Linked DNA regions of Homo sapiens: region 1 is linked to region 2. The links are contacts of gene promoters, found by promoter capture Hi-C in blood cells and fetal thymus (Javierre and others, 2016). All regions are on one chromosome and are shown on one strand. The core of a region is centred on a gene start or on the middle of the fragment in contact, and the rest is flanking DNA. Distances in the headings are between cores, read along the strand shown. Region 1 overlaps CUL9 (cullin 9). Region 2 holds the start of DLK2 (delta like non-canonical Notch ligand 2).

The links. Contacts are between HindIII fragments. The CHiCAGO score rates a contact against its expected background, and 5 or more counts as called.
Region 1: a fragment that was not itself captured here is called in contact with the fragment with the promoter of DLK2 in region 2 in 1 of 17 cell types (naive B cells); the score reaches 5.2 in naive B cells.

What each region holds. Positions count from the first base shown.
Region 1 is chr6:43,205,572-43,208,271 of GRCh38, forward strand. CUL9 (cullin 9) reads left to right here. Exons shown (of 41, transcript NM_015089.4): 25 at 436-664; 26 at 750-939. Among named protein-coding and RNA genes, the nearest start is that of DNPH1, 23 kb to the right of the region's middle. The HindIII fragment of the contact is 3,481 bases long and covers 1-2,700 here.
Region 2 is chr6:43,454,285-43,456,984 of GRCh38, forward strand. DLK2 (delta like non-canonical Notch ligand 2) reads right to left here and starts at 1,264. Exons shown (of 6, transcript NM_023932.4): 1 at 1,111-1,264; 2 at 466-596; 3 at 127-190. The coding sequence starts at 541. RefSeq lists enhancers at 243-292, 1,921-2,700 and silencers at 823-902, 933-982, 1,083-1,322. The HindIII fragment of the contact is 6,033 bases long and covers 1-2,700 here.

The DNA.
Region 1 (2,700 bases), core at 66-2,565, 250 kb before region 2:
TGTAATCCCAGCATTCTGGCAGGCAGATCACCTGAGGTCAGGAGTTCAAGACCAGCCTGACCAACATGGTGAAACCCTTTCTCTACTAAAAATACAAAAATTAGCCAGGTGTGGTGGCGTGGTGGCAGGCACCTGTAATCCCAGCTATTCGGGAGGGTGAGGCAGGTGAATCTCTTGAACCCGGGAGGCAGAGGTTGCAGTGAGCCAAGACCACGTCATTGCACTTCAGCCTGGGTGACAAGAGCAAGACTCCGTCTCAAAAAAAAAAAAAAAAAGTGGAGGTGGTCATGCATTGGTGGAAAGGGAGTGGGAAAGAAGAGGTGAGGTAGGGTATGTGACTCAGGCAGAGGGACAGAGGGACCTACATTCTCGAGGGGGAGGCTGGGCCACGCTGGCACCCACACTGAGGCTTGGCCCGGGCTGTGTGTGCTGCAGGCATTATATGGCGGACCGTCTCCTGAGCTTTGGTTCGAGCTGGCTGGAGGGGGCTGTGCTAGAGCAGATTGGCCTCTGTTTTCCCAACCGCCTCCCACAGCTGATGCTGCAGAGCCTGAGCACCTCTGAGGAGCTGCAGCGCCAGTTCCACCTCTTCCAGCTCCAGCGGCTCGACAAGTTGTTCTTGGAGCAGGAAGATGAGGAGGAAAAGAGACTAGAGGAAGAGGAGGTAAGAGCAGGGAGAATAGGAGAGTGAGAGAAGACTAGACCAAGGAAGGGAGCCCAAGGGCCCTTGAAATCCTTCTGTCCCTCAGGAGGAAGAGGAGGAAGAGGAAGCTGAGAAAGAATTATTTATCGAAGATCCAAGTCCAGCCATTTCTATACTGGTCCTGTCACCACGCTGCTGGCCCGTCTCCCCACTCTGCTACCTGTACCATCCCAGAAAGTGCCTTCCCACAGAATTCTGTGATGCCCTTGACCGTTTCTCCAGTTTCTACAGCCAGAGTGAGGAACTAGGGAGAGGAAATTGGAGATCGGGGTGAGATTCGGGGTGGCAAGAGAGGAAGAGGAGAGGACCTTTGGACAGGATATAGATGTGAAGAAAAATATCAGCTCCTAGCGAGGGATGAGAAAGCATGGGTTGTAGTTTCATTAATTTCTGCTCTCATCAGTTTCTTCAACTTTCTATGAATTTGTTCTGTTTTCTTTTTCTAACTTCAAGTGAGGTGCTTATTTGATTTTTAGTCTTTTCAGACTTTTTTCCAAATAAAAGTGTTTAAGACTATTCATTTCCCTCTCAATACTGCTTTAGTGGCATCCTATAAAGTTTTAAAAGATTTTTTTTCTTTATTTTTTTGACATGGAGTCTCACTCTGTCACCCAGACCAGAGTGCAGTGGTGTAATCTCTGCTCACTGCAGCCTCTACCTCCCGGGTTCAAGCGATTCTCCTGTCTCAGCCTCCCAAGTAGCTGGGACTACAGGCGTATGCCACCACACCCGGCTAATTGTGTATTTTTAGTAGTGACGGGGTTTCACCATGTTAACCAGGCTGGTCTCAAACTCCTGACCTCAGGTGATCCACCCGCCTCAGTGAGCCACTGTGCCCGGCCAAAAAGATTTTTTAGATTGGGATATAACTAGTATTCAGTAAAGTGCACACGTCTTAATTATAAGGCTTCATGAATTATTATATTCATATACACCCATGTATCTACCTCCCTCATACCCCCATCAAGATACAGAACATTTCCAGCATCGTAGAAGGCTGTCTCCTTCATGCCCCCTTTCCAGTCAATGTCTTCTTCCAGGAGAAATCATTATTTTTAACCTTTATCACCATAGATTTGTGCCTGTATTTGAACATCATATAAATGGAATCATACAGTATTCTGCTGTGTCTGATGTCTTTCACGAAACATACTGTCTGTGAGGGTTATTCAGGTTGTCAAGGGTATCATTAGTTTATTCATTTATTTTGCTGAGTCATATTCCATTGTATGGATGTATTTACCCTTTCTGCTGTTTATGGGCATTTGGGATGTTCTGTAAGTTTTTATTACGTATTATTTTTATTATTGTTTAGTTCTAAGAATTGTTAAATTTCTATTATTATTTCTTTATTTTGTTTTTCAGAAGAATATATATTTTAATTTCCAAACAAGTTTTTCTTTGTTTAATTTTTTTTTGTTTTATATTTCTAACCTCATTCCCCTGTGGCCAAAGAGCATGGTTTCTATGATTCTGAATCTTTGCAGTTTATTGAGACTTCGTTATGGCCTGGTAGATGGTCATATTTTACCTGTTTCATGTATGATTAAGAAGAATGTGTATTCTTAACTGGATTCTACATATTTCACCAAATTGACCTTGTTAATTGTTTTGTTCACATCTTCTGTAAAGTTACTAGTTTTTGTCTACTTGATCTACTACTGAGAGAGGTGTGCTAAAATCTACCACTATGATGGTGAATTTTTTAAAACCGCTAATCATACTGGTTTAACTGTATATATATTTTTTGGCTATTTTGTTAGAAGGTTAAAATAGTTTAACAGTGCTATCCAGTAGAACTTTCTGCAATGATTGAAAAATTCTTTTCTGCACCGTTCAGTATGATAGTCATTGGTGGCAATTAAGTACTTGGAATGTGGCTAATATAACTGAGGAACTAAATAATTTAATTGTAATCAGTTTATTATTTTATTTTAATTTTTTTGAGACAGAGTCTCACTCTGTCACCCAGGCTGGAGTACAGTGGCTTGATCTTG
Region 2 (2,700 bases), core at 14-2,513:
GCCAGTCAGCCATAGGAGTGATGAGGCATGAAGAGTAGAGTCTGAAGCCCCTAGACACTGTTGTGCACGTGAAGGGCTTAGAAATGGGTACCAAAGGGTTTGGGGGCACGTGCTCAGGACAGGTACCTGCAGGAGCCGTCAGGTGCACAGCAGCCGTGGGCCAGGTCACAGTGGGAGCTGCAGTCATCGGCTGCAAGAGATTGATGTGGGAGGGGTGAGTCTGAGTCAGGGCACAGCTCGCTGGGATGCGGGACTCAGGAGAGGATTGGGGTTCCAGTAACTGAGCGGACTCAACCCTAGGGCAGGACATAACACAGAAACTCATCCCATTCCAAAAAGGCAACCTCGGTCTTGCTTGCCCCGCGGGTCGGAGCGACTGCAGTGCCGCCTCCGGCCGGCAGAGGTCAACGTGCAAGCGAGGACGGCTGGACAGGGCCGCGACTGGAGCCCAGCGGGCGCGCTCACCTCGGACAGGCTGACCGGGAGCCCCCAGAATGCACAACAGGCACACGAGATGCAGGCAGCGGCAGCCGCTGGGCATGGTCAGCGCCGGCCCCAGGAGGGACGGACGGATGGACGGCCGGACGCGTGGACACCTGTGGGACGGCACCGGTTGGGAGGCGGCCGGACGCGGAGATAGCGGCACGGATACGGGTTCCAAGTGACAGGAGCCGACGAGGGAGAGGGGCGCCGGGACAGAAGAAGGGGATGGGGGTAGCGGGAGGATGGGGGCAGGGAAGGGTTGAGCAGGCGAAGAGAGCGAGGAGAGCGAAGACAGGAACCCGGGAGCGGGGTCTGCAAGGAGGGGAAAGATGGGCATCGCGGAGCGAGGCCAGGCGCGGGAATGGCTGGGGTTGGGATCGTAGTCAGGACGGAGGGGTCCGCGGGATGGGGACAGCGCCGAGAGGCGGCCTCGAGCACGGAGGGGACGCGGGGGCCGGAGGGAAGGACGGTTCCCGGCAGCGAGCAGTCTCCGCCCCACAGCTCCGACAGCCCCCCCCCCCGCCACCACCACTCTCTCCCACGTCCCCTTTCTATCTCCGCCGCGCTGGGTTCGGCGGCGGCGCGGGGCCTGGAATCCCCACCGCGCCCTGTCCCCGCAGTCCTCACCTCCGGCGGGGAGGTGGCGCGCCCCGGGGCGCAGAGAGAGGCCGGATCCGACGGGCGCCGCCGAGGGGCCGTGAGGGAGCGCGGGGCCGCCCCTAGCTGGCCGCGGGGCCGGGCGCCGAAGCGGCTGCCATGCGAGCCGAGCGCTCGGGAATCTGGGGCTCCAGGCGACCCCGAGCGGCGGCAGCGGCTGCTCCTCGCGCGCGCTCAGGCCCCCTGCCAGGGGCGGAGCCCGCCCCCACCCCCATCCCCCCCCCCGCGACGCACGGCGCACACCTAGCACCCGGCGCGCCCCGGGGCCCCGGCCCTCCGCGGCTACCCAACGCCCCGAACCCAGCTTCCTTCCAAGAGAGGAGGAAATCTTAGGAGTCTCAATGGGAGCAAACTATTAAGCCAAAGGAGCGCAACCCCGTTATTCTCTCATCTCCCATGCCCACTTTCCCGACCAGCGCTCCGCGGCCCACGCCCCAGCCCTGCCTTCGCTTGTCCGCCGCTCATCACGCTTCTCATATAGATCTATGCACACGCAGGCAATCGCTCCCCGCCCTCCGCCTGTCACCAGCCCACGCCTCCCCGCTTGTAAAGCCTTCATCACCTGCTTCATCTGTGTGCTCCTCTGCTCCTCCTCGCCCTCCGCTTCTTCCTGTCCACGTTGCCGTCTCCAGCCTTCCAAGATCAACCTATCCCTATATAAATATCAACCCGATCCACCCAACCACACCCCGGCCCTACCCCCACCACCCTTCCCTCCCTCAAGTCTCAGCCCTTCCACCCCATTCCTTTTTGTGACTGCCTCTGAGAATCCTTTCTGGACTGGGAATGCCCCTGACTCTGTAAATGTGCACACAAAACCCCCTCCACCGCCAAGTCTTCTCCTGTACCCCATCACGTTCGTCCTTGGCCTCAGGCTAAACCTCAACTGCCCAAACCTGGAGCTCAGATTCAGAGAGTAACGGAGGGGGAGTGGGGGAAAGCTGCCCTCCAGGCCTCTTTGCCCCCTTCTGGCTAATGGCTCAGAGACACATTTCAAGACAAGGACCCAGCCAAGCTCGGTGGGCTCACGCCTATAATTCCAGCACTTTGGGAGGCTGAGGCGGGCGGATCACCTGAGGTCAGGAGTTCGAGACCAGCCTGGCCAACATGGTGAAACCCGTCTCTATTAAAAATACAGAAATTAGCCAGGCGTGGTGGTGCGCGCCTGTAATCCCAGCTACTCGGAAGGCTGAGGCAGGAAAATCGCTTGAAAACCCGGGAGGCAGACGTTGCAGTTAGCCAAGATCGCGCCACTGCACTCCAGCTTGGGGGACAGAGCAAAACTCCGACCCCCGCCCCCCCCCAAAAAAAGACAAGGACCCAGAACATAATTTCTAGTTTGTGCAGGACAACAGGGCAGAGGTCAGGAACGCTAGCGCCCATCTCTAGTCCTTCAGATTGAGATTTCACCATCTTTAAATTCAAAACATCGGAAGGAGCAGTCGCTAGTCGGGGCAGAGCAGCTTCCCACCTTCACACAGCCACCTCCACAGGCACAGAGCCCCAGGGCTCATTTTTCCTGCAGTCTCCATTGGATATAACACTTACACCCACTCAGCT